Linked DNA regions of Homo sapiens: region 2 is linked to region 1. The links are contacts of gene promoters, found by promoter capture Hi-C in human tissues and cell types (Jung and others, 2019). All regions are on one chromosome and are shown on one strand. The core of a region is centred on a gene start or on the middle of the fragment in contact, and the rest is flanking DNA. Distances in the headings are between cores, read along the strand shown. Region 1 holds the start of ARL11 (ARF like GTPase 11). Region 2 overlaps CDADC1 (cytidine and dCMP deaminase domain containing 1).

Evidence for each region. The method cuts DNA at HindIII sites, captures the fragments that hold promoters and counts their contacts. A contact is called where the count stands out against the background at its distance.
Region 2: a contact is called between a fragment that was not itself captured here and the fragment with the promoter of ARL11 in region 1, in 1 of the 25 tissues and cell types used here (lymphoblastoid cells).

Annotation. Positions count from the first base shown.
Region 1 is chr13:49,627,228-49,632,603 of GRCh38, forward strand. It overlaps ARL11 (ARF like GTPase 11), which reads left to right and starts at 1,280. Exons shown (of 2, transcript NM_138450.6): 1 at 1,280-1,388; 2 at 3,203-5,376. The coding sequence starts at 3,221. The coding sequence ends at 3,811. RefSeq lists an enhancer at 1,532-1,581. The HindIII fragment of the contact is 10,720 bases long and covers 1-5,376 here.
Region 2 is chr13:49,248,970-49,254,502 of GRCh38, forward strand. The region is part of intron 2 of CDADC1 (cytidine and dCMP deaminase domain containing 1); the gene reads left to right. Among named protein-coding and RNA genes, the nearest start is that of CDADC1, 3.8 kb to the left of the region's middle. The HindIII fragment of the contact is 5,612 bases long and covers 263-5,533 here.

The DNA of each region.
Region 1 (5,376 bases), core at 30-2,529:
CTGGAACTACAGGCACACATCACCATGCCTGGTTAATTTATTATTTTTTGTAGAGACGTGGTTTCACCATATTGGCCAGGCTGGTCTTGAACTCCTGAGCTTGAGCGATCCTCCTGCCTTGGCCTCCCAAAGTGCTGGGATTACAGGCATGAGCCCCCATGCCCGGCGACTAGCCAATTTTTTAAAAATTACATTTTCTAGAGGTGTCATTTTTACTGGGAAAAACACAGTGACACCATTCAAGAAAAAATTGAACGGTAACTTTAATCACTACATTAACACAATTTTAAAGGTTGATCTGCATCATACATACCTTTTAAAGAATGTTTTCATCATATGTAGACAGCTTTTTTTGTTTTTTGTTTTTGTTTTTGTTTTGAGGCAGAGTCTCGCTCTGTCACCAAGGCTGGAGTGCAGTGGTGTGATCTGGGCTCACTGCAACCTCCGCCTCCCGGGTTCATGCCATTCTCCTGCCTCAGCCTCCCAAATAGCTGGGCCTACAGGTAGGTGCCACCACGCCCAGCTAATTTTTGTATTTTTAGTAGAGACGGGGTTTCACCATGTTAGCCAGGCTGGTCTCGAACTCCTGACCTCGTGATCCACCCACCTCAGCCCCCCAAAATGTTGGGATTACAGGCCTGAGCCACCACGCCTGGCCATAGGCAGCTTTTAAAAGAACACATGTGCAGCCTGGCCATCATGGTGAAACCTGTCTTTATGAAAAATACAAAAATCAGCTGGGCATGGTGGCACCTGCCTATAATCCCACTTGCTTAGGAGGTTGAGGAGGGAGGATCGCTTGAGCCCTGGAGGCGGAGGCTGCTGTCCAGCCTGGGCGACAGAGCAAGACTCGGTCTCAAATAGAAAACAAAACAAAACAACAACAACAACAACAACAAACCATGTGTGATTCCAAGCAAATCAGAGAATCTCTAGCCACCAGAAAAACCTTGAGGCATGTACTGAAAGGAAGAGGTCAGAATTCTCTGCGAGGAGCTCAGAGGATCCTGAGGGAAGAGAGAAGGCGGCTGCGCTTGGACACAGCTCCGAGCTCGTGCTCCCTCCTTCAGGCACCCAAGTCTGAGTTGCTAAAAAATGGAGCTGTCACTGGGCCTTGCTCTGCCAGGACCTGCAGAGCCGGGGACCTCTCTGTGGCAAGCCCAGCAAGATGACTGCTCTGAGGCGCCCTAGGGCTGAGGGAGGGGCCGTGACACCAGCCCCGCCCCCCAGCCACCTGGGAAAAGGAAGCACAAAAAGGAGAAGCAGCAACGGCTGCTCTGCTTCCTTCCCATCTCGCTCTTGGGTCATGCCTGGCCAGCAGAAAGCAGCTCCATAGGGGAGGAGAGCCACGCAGGATCTCACAGCTGCAGTCTAATAGTAACACAGAGGTAATTTTAACTTTTTACTTTTCTACCCTTGGGAGTAGGGATGAGTAGAGGCTTACCTCCTTCCAGAGGCAGCTCATATCCCCCCACCCCCATTCCCGGAAGTTGAGATGTCTCTTCTCTGTTCCACGCAGGCATCGTCTAAGTTGGGAACAGGTCTTATGTCTTAAAATTTGGGATTCTTTAAAAACATATGTGGCTGGGCACAGTGGCTCACGCCTGTAATCCCAGCACTTTGGGAGGCCGGGCAGGTGGATAATTTGAGGTCAGGAGTTCAATACCAGCCAGGCCAACATGGTGAAACCTCGTCTCTAATATAAATACAAAAAGTAGCTGGGTGGTAGTAGTAGCTGTAATCCCAGGTACTCGGGAGGCTGAGGCAGGAGAATCCCTTGAACCTAGGAGGCGGAGGTTGCAGGGAGGCAGAGGTTGTGATGAGCCAAGATTGCACCACTGCACTCCAGTCTGGGTGACACAGTGAGACCCTGTCTCAAAACAACAACAAAAATGTGTGATGGCACATGCCCATAGTCCCAGCTACTGGGGAGGCTGAGGTGGGAGGATGGCTTGAGCCTGGGAAGTCGAGGCTGCAGTGAGCTGTGATCATGCCACTGCAGTCCAGCCTGGGCGACAGAGTGAGACCCTGTCTCAAAACAAAACAAAACAAAACAAAACAAAAAAACCCAAAAACAAACAAAAAAGCACATGTGGAGTGTTGTAGAAGTCATTGACCTTGGTAAGACAGTGGAGGAAACTGCTTTGCTCTGACTCATAAATTTGCCCCCAGTAAACAGTATTTATAAATAGCCCCAGTCAGGCACTGCATGAAGACATTTCAGTCAACGACAGACCACATATACAACGGTGGTCCCATAAGATTATAACAGAGCTGAAAAATTCCTATTTTTCAGCTTAGTGTTGTGGTGCAACCACTACCTTTTCTATGTTTAGATACACGAATACTTAGCACTGTGTTACAATAGCCTACAGTACCCATTACAGGAATGCTGTACCGGTGTGTAGCCCAGGAGCAATGGGCCATACCATATAGCCTAGGTGTGGAGTAGACTAGACCATCCACGTTTGTGTAATTACAATCTATGATTTTGTAAAATGATGAAATTGCCTAATGAAGCATTTCTCAGAATGTGTCCCCGTCATTAAGTGACACCTCACTGTGTTTCCAAGACATAGTACTGGTCCTTGGGAAGCTCTAAAGAGAGGTCACCGTGAGCTGAACCATCCTTCTCACTCTGTGCATGGAACCCAGCTTAGCTTCCATTTCAGCATTTAGGCTTATAGGAGGAGAAGAGGTTAGAAGCCACAGACCAGCAAGAATTGAAGACATCGTTCTGTAATTTCTACTGAACCAGCTCTGTCTGACTGGAACTTCATTTTGCCTCTTTGCTTTAACTCCTCAGGAATGTCTTCCAGGAGGCCCCTGATCTTCTCTGCTCAGGGACCACTCTTATCTGACCCAGAGACAGGTTAGCTGATGGTGACTCACACATCCTCACTTCCTTCAAAGCCCAGGCATCTGTTTAAAATCTGACCCTGTGAAGACTTTTCCTGTTTTGGAAAAACTCTTCCGTTGTTTGCCTGCACAGATTTGTGCTCCATTTTTAATTTCAATTTTTGTAGAGAAGGCGGGTCCTTGCTTTGTTGCCTCGGCTTGTTTGAAACTCCTGGGCTCAAGTGATCCTCCTGCCTTGGCCTCCCACAGTGCTGGGATTACAGGTGTGAGCCACTGCACCAGGATGGATTTGTCTTCCTTCAGAAGACAGTAGCTGATGTGTGCCCTGGCCTTTCTCCCCTAGGATTCAGCAGTGGCCACCATGGGTTCTGTGAATTCCAGAGGTCACAAGGCGGAAGCCCAGGTGGTGATGATGGGCCTGGACTCGGCGGGCAAGACCACGCTCCTTTACAAGCTGAAGGGCCACCAGCTGGTGGAGACCCTGCCCACTGTTGGTTTCAACGTGGAGCCTCTGAAAGCTCCTGGGCACGTGTCACTGACTCTCTGGGACGTTGGGGGGCAGGCCCCGCTCAGAGCCAGCTGGAAGGACTATCTGGAAGGCACAGATATCCTCGTGTACGTGCTGGACAGCACAGATGAAGCCCGCTTACCCGAGTCGGCGGCTGAGCTCACAGAAGTCCTGAACGACCCCAACATGGCTGGCGTCCCCTTCTTGGTGCTGGCCAACAAGCAGGAGGCACCTGATGCACTTCCGCTGCTTAAGATCAGAAACAGGCTGAGTCTAGAGAGATTCCAGGACCACTGCTGGGAGCTCCGGGGCTGCAGTGCCCTCACTGGGGAGGGGCTGCCCGAGGCCCTGCAGAGCCTGTGGAGCCTCCTGAAATCTCGCAGCTGCATGTGTCTGCAGGCGAGAGCCCATGGGGCTGAGCGCGGAGACAGCAAGAGATCTTGATCCAGACAGAGCAGCATATCTTTGCTCATACAAACTAGAAGAACCAGCTGATCCTTGAGAAATTTACGCTTAGTCTATCAAACAAGAAATGCTGGCTTGGCCCGGTGGCTCATGCCTGTAATCCCAGCACTGTGGGAGACCACGGTGGGGGAATCCCTTGAGCCCAGGAGTTGGAGAGCAACATCACAACACCCCATTTCTACTAATAATCAAAAAATTGGCCGGGCATGGTGGCATGTGCCTGTAGTCCCAGCTACTTGGGAGGCTGAGGCAGGAGAATCGCTTGAGCCCAAGAGGTAGAGGTTGCAGTGAGCCAAGATCGCGCCACTGCACTCCAGTCTGGGCAACAGAGTGAGACCCTGTCTCAATAATAATAATAATAATAATGATGATACTCTAAGAAAAAAATCTCAACATACTTCATTTAATAGCTCGTTACCAAGTGTGAATGAAGCAATATGTCATAATAGAGTAGCCACTGGTTGCATAATAATAGAGACCTAAATTCTCAAATAGGGAAAGAGGTTTTAAAATCAAATTTGAGGCCAGGTGCAGTGGCTCATGGGCGGAGGAGGGCAGATTACTTGAGGCTAGGAGTTCAAGACCAGCCTGGCCAACATGGTGAAACCCCATCTCTACTGAAAATACAAAAATTAGGCATAGTGGTGCACGCCTGCAGTCCCAGCTACTCAGGAGGTTGAGGCAGAAGAATCGCTTGAACCCAGGAAGTGGAGGTTGCAGTGAGCCGAGATTGTGCTGCTGCACTCCAGCCTGGGTGAAAAAGACAGGCTGTGTCTCCAAAAAGAAAAAAAAAAGTCAAATTCAAATATCATCTGGACATGTCACAATGGATCGCGGATCCTTATGAGTGATTTTCCCCAGTGGCCCCTGGGGATGTGCCACTGTCACTCAGAAGGGCAAGCTAGGCAGGGCCCATACAACAGCAGGGGTCTGCAGGTTAGACGTTCCCTGCCCTGGGACGCTCACCCCTGGGCAAGAGGCTGGAAGTTCACACCATCCAAAATTTATCCTTGTTTTTTTTCTGATGCTAATTAGCCTCTCCCGATTTTATGACATCTTGTGTTGATCTTTTTCAAAAACTCATTTTCTTTTTTTTCCTTCTCTTTTCTCCTTCTTGTAGCACATATCTTTCGTTAAAGATCAGATCAATAAAATATTTTATTTATTCATTAATTTAACAAAAAAAACAGAGCATTTAGTTTGTGGCAAAAACACTGAGCTTTCGAATATGAATCATGTGCTTTAGGTGGGAATTGTGAATTCTGAAGATACAGATGACAGTGACGAATGCCTTCTGTCTCATGATTGACAGGGAAAAGGAAGGTTGACCATAGCATCCTAGAAGGCTCATCAGGTGATCATTACCTAGCATCCATGAAGCACCTGAAATTATTTGCAAAATGTTACGCTTTGGACCATTTTTCCGGGGAAGGAGATCCAGAACTTTTTACCAGATTTTCAAAGACATCTGTGACTCCCAAAAGTTAACAATCACTGATGTGGTTGTTGTATCCCTCATCCAACCCCAGAACACTTTCTGTAAT
Region 2 (5,533 bases), core at 1,819-4,318, 380 kb before region 1:
AATTTGTTTCATAGTTTTTCCCCTTAGAAAAGCAGTGGTTTAAAATCTGAGTTTATTGCTCCAGTTTCTGTCATACCTAAAACCAAACTTAACAAGGCTTAAGATTTAAAAAATATCTTTATTGATTAACATGACACTTTATAATTCCCAGCCGTAATAAGTCATCTTCCATTCTAAAAATACTTTCTGAGAATACCATGTTTATCGGGTACTAATGGTATTCATATGTCAGTTCGGCTAATAAGATTATTGTCTATACCACATAATTTCCCCCAATTATATATACTGTTGGTGTTTTATCTAGGTAGTTTACTCCTCTGCCACAGAAATATATAAATTGCCTGGAGATAGAGACCATGTCTTATTTTACCTAGCATATACCCTTTAGAGTCTAGCATTATATGAGTGCTAATTGATTAATGTTGGATGGAAGTAGTCTCTTTTTGGATCTTGAAAGACAGGATCAAAACAGATTAGAAATGGGCTGTGTGCAGTGGCTCACGCCTGTAATCCTAGCACTTTGTGAGGCTGAGGTGGGTGGATCACCTGAGGTCAGGAGTTCAAAACCAGCCTGGGCAACATAGTGAAACCCCATCTCTATTAAACATACAAAAATTAGCCAGGAGTGGTGGTATCCGCCTGTAGTCCCAGTTACGCGGGAGGCTGAGGCATGAGAATCGCTTGAACGAATCGTTGGAGGTTACAGTGAGCTGAGATTGCACCACTGCACTCCAGCCTGGGTGACAGAGCAAGACTCCATCTCAAAAAAAAAATCAGAAATGTATAGTAAGAATAATCATAAAAGCCAATATATTGGAATTGGAAGTATAAACATCCTGCGTCTTTTCTTTCTCCTACCCTTGGGGCAACAAGGGGCTAGGTTCTCATTTTCCTCCATGCTTGGAATGGCATGATGCTAGGTTCTCATCATTTCTGTTTGATAATTTTGGAAGCTTAGGGTGTTGGCATTAATTTTTATAGGGGGCCACGGCCATTGGAAAATAGTATTAGGTTAAGTTGAGCATTTAAGACTTTTTTTAAAACAGAGGTAAAATGAGGGGGGTGGGGCAGAAAATTACACATGGCTTCTCACCACTCTAACAACATTACTGTTAATATTTTGGTGCTTCCAATCTTAAGCATGAGGTTTTTTATTTTTACTCTTACAAAGTTGTAGTTATATTCTGCATGTACTCGCTGAGGTTTCCAACTTGCCCATAATTCTGCTGAAAGGTTGCTTTAGATTTTCCAGAGAAAGACTATAAATCCTTAAATTCCCACAGTACTCTTAGGAGACCACCTACTCTTTTCATTTTACTGTGGATGAGGTTTTGTGCTTGGCACTGGAGACACAAAGCAGAAAAAACATGGTCTTTATTTTCTAATGAGTAGAAACACTAGGCATTTAAACAATTAAAACAGAATTGGTGGAGTGAGTACATAGTATAAGCAGAGATGTTGGCAAGACTGGGAGCCAGGCTCTATATGGGGAAGTGAAGGAAGGATTCACAGAGAAGGTCGTATTTGCACTGAGACATGAAGGATTAGTGGACTTTTGCCCAAGCCAAGGAACTCTACATGGAAAAGCTTGGAGCAATGAGAGAATTTGTGGTCCTCAGGCCAGAAAGTGAAGTTAGGTAGAGGGAAGAGACTGGAAAGGAGCTTGACAATGTAGACAGGAATCATATCATAAAAAGCATTGTATGCCTTGCAAAGGAGTTTAGATTTTATCTTATCAATATAGGAATTGCATTGAGGAATTTTAACAGGATGTGAGGATATTCGCTTCTCATAATAAAATGATATCTCTTGGTGTAGTTTCCTCCCCCAATTCCTATGTGAAGTGTTTTATAGATAGTAAAACATTATTTAAAATATTATACATCGTTATTCCATATTTCTCACCCTCATCCCCCCACTCTGGCTCTACATGTTATTAACGGCTGAGAAAGCTCTTCATTTCCTTCATTAATTTTGAAATTCCTTTATTCCTTCTACTTGTTAATAGTTTAGTATTATTTTATGAAAGTAGATTTCCAAGCTGTTAGGGATTTTATGTAGTGTTGTGTTTTTTTTGTTTTGTTTTGTTTTGTTTTCAGATAAAATTTATTTTGAAGAGCCAGATTAGAAACAAATATTTAGAGGTTTAAGACTTTTAGGCCGGGTGCAGTGGCTCATGCCTGTAATCCCAGCACTTTGGGAGGCCGAGGCAGGCAGATCACAAGGTCAAGAGATCGAGACCATCTTGGCCAACATGGTGAAACCCCGTCTCTGCCAAAAATACAAAAAGTAGCTGGGCGTGGTGGTGCGTGCCTGTAGTCCCAGCTACTTAGGAGGCTGAGGCAGGAGAAACACTTGAACCCAGGAGGCAGAGATTGCATTGAGCTGAGATCACGCCACTGCACTCCAGCCTGGCGACAGAAAAAAAAAGAAAAAAAAAAGAAAAAAAAACGTATAAAAACTGGACATATTAGAGATTGAATACAAATTTTGAAAAGGCGTTCTTTTTTTTGTAAATATCCAGATGTGATCTCGTTTTAGTTCTGTTTTTTTATATACACACCACATCCTGTGCTGAAATTAAGTTTTTTTTTTCAACAGGCACAAGTTGTATTTAATTAGTGAGAAATGACATTTATGTTTCTATTAGGAAGGAATTGATTGGCCAACTAATTGTTGAAGTTTATTTGCAAATAATACACACCCTACTGTTTCCTCATACTATATAGAGAAAGCTGTGGATCTGAGAAAACTGAGATGAAGCTTTCAGTTAGCATTTTGTTAAAAAAAATACTACCAAGGAAATTTCAAAACTATATTAGCAACAAAATTTTATACAACTTTATATCATGTTTAACAAAAGATCAAGGTTATGACTCTCATTTTCTCCCAAGCCAACAACTCTTAAGTTTTCCTGGCATCTCATTCCTTCATCTGGTGGGCACCATGGAAGTTTTCTAAATGAAAATAAATAAGTCTTTTGTTTCAGATATTTTATTTGGGATCTTATTTAGAAATCTGACTCATACGCATGTCTATTTAAGGCTTTTAAATGGAAAGTTATAACACATAGAAATGAGTACAGAAGGCATCAAAACAAAGAACATCCATGTCTTCAGAAAGCCAGGCAACCTGGAACTAGGATTGACTTGGCTATATGAAAGGTTATCACTCTTAGCTCCTGGTCCTGGAGCATGCCCAGCTCCTATTCACTGCATTGGTGTCTTTCCAGCTGTGCTCCCATACCCATGTGTCCTAGGACTACAACCCTCTCACCATGGTCTTGGGTAGGCCTTTACTTCTGTTCTTACCTACAGGGCTTGGGACTCCAAGGCACTTGGGGAGGGAGAGCCTCAGGATTACTCTGGCAGTGATCTGGGTGAAAGAGGCTTTTGCATGTTAACTTGGGAACTTGACTATCATTTTTAACATTGTTTATATGAGAAAAATGTGTTTTAAATTCCGAAAAGGGAGATTTACCAAGTATTTAGAACATGATTGTAGGTTGTCAATTACTTGTATATTTAATGTCAATAAAGCAGAAGTATATAATTTCATTAGTTCTTCTGATATCATGGCCATTGCAAAAAAGCAAGACCAATGATAGTGTGGGGGAAGAATACAGAATGAAAGGGAGCATATTGTACTCCACTTTTATAGTGTTATTTATTGTACAAACATTATCATTGAAACTGAATTTATAGCTGCAACATTTTTAAAAACTATTTTTTTCTCTTGGATTTCCTTTTTGTACTAGTTAATATCCACATAATTTTGCAGGTAGTTGCAGTCATAGCAGGAACACAATTTTGTATTTGACAGTTTTGGTACTGTTACAGGGTTGATAAGTTATTAATTTTAAATTATACAGTAAGAATACATCTAAATTTCATATGCATGTAGTATATGCTGCCATTGTGTTTATACTTGTGGAAATATTAAATTTCTCAAAATGTTGCCCAATTTTGTGCCTAATATTTCTTTACCATTTACTATAGTATATTTTTTCCAGTATTATTTGCACATGGTATTCTTAGAGTTGAGTACAAACTTTTTCCAATTAAGAGAAAAAAAGTCTTCTTTAAGCTAAAGTAATAAGATTGTTTCACTTAAATTCTTTAGTCTGCTTTTGTTGTACAGAGTAAATCACAGAAATACCAAGATGCAATTAGACATGTAATTGTATTGGAAATACTGCTTTTGATACTTTACCAACATTTGTCTTACTAAAAGTATTTTTATGAGTTACCAAAGTAATATATGTTTGTTATTTTTAAAATGGACAGAAGAAAAATTTTATCATAATTCCACCTCCTAGAGACTAATTACTTTTTAAAAATTGTTTCTCAGTCTTTTTTCTCTTACTTTCTTTACTTACATGAGATCATTTAACTCTGGATCCTACCCTTTTCACTTAACATAAGAAAATACTTATGCTGTAATGCTAGTATAAACATTGGAGCAGCACCTTAGTCTAGTAATTTAGAGTAGCCAGTGGTTTTACAGCCAGCCTGCCTGGGTTCAGACTCTGGCTCCGCCTCTTACTAGTTGTATAACTTTGGGTAACTCTACCTCTCTGTGTCAGCTTCCTCATCTGTAAAATGAAATGTTACTAGTATATACTACATGAGGCTTTTATGAGAAATGAATGAGTTAATATTTGTAAAGGTCTTAGTGCCTGGCACATGTTAGGTACTATGTGTTTGTTGTTGTTGTTGTTGTCTCCTTATTTATTTATTTGTTTATGTATTTATTTTAATAGAGATGTGGTCTTGCCATGTTGCCCAGACTGGTCGCTAACTCCTGGGCTCAAGCAGTCCACCCGCCTCAGCCTCCCGAAGTGGTAGGATTACAGGCATGAGCCACCGCACCTAGCCTCCTAACTCTTTCCATTGTGTCTTCTGGTACCTTATGCTAAAGGCCCTCACTGTACTTTTCCAGAACAGAAGCAATGTGGCATAATGGTTAAGACAATGGATCTTGGGCTGGATCTGGCATATCCACTTAATTACCTGTGTGACCATGGTTGAATTATTTAATCTCTCTCAGCCACAATTTCCTCATTTGTACAATGGGAATAATAGGAGCTACTTTATAAAGTTATAAGGATTAAATGAGATAATTTAGGGCCTGGTACATGATAAACATGCAGTAGATGTTAGGTACTGTTATTATCATCACTCATATATATAATTATTACCACTACTAGCACCCACATCCTTACCGTTTTTCCACTGATACCATCACTTCCTCTACTTCCTGTTCTGTCTGAACAGAAACCTCATTCCCAGAACATGGGTTTTCTTATAAACTTCTTTTTGATGGTTCTTTCTTTTCTAGCATCCAGCACTTGTTTCATAAGACTAGCAGGTCAACATTTACAAAGTTTCCCATTCCTACTTTAAAACTTTATCAATGTATTAACTATCCCACCCTTTTTTTTTTTTTTTTGAAACAGAGTCTTGCTGTGTTGCCCAGGCTGGAGTGCAGTGGCGTGATCTCGGCTCACTGCAACCTCCATCTCCCGGGTTCA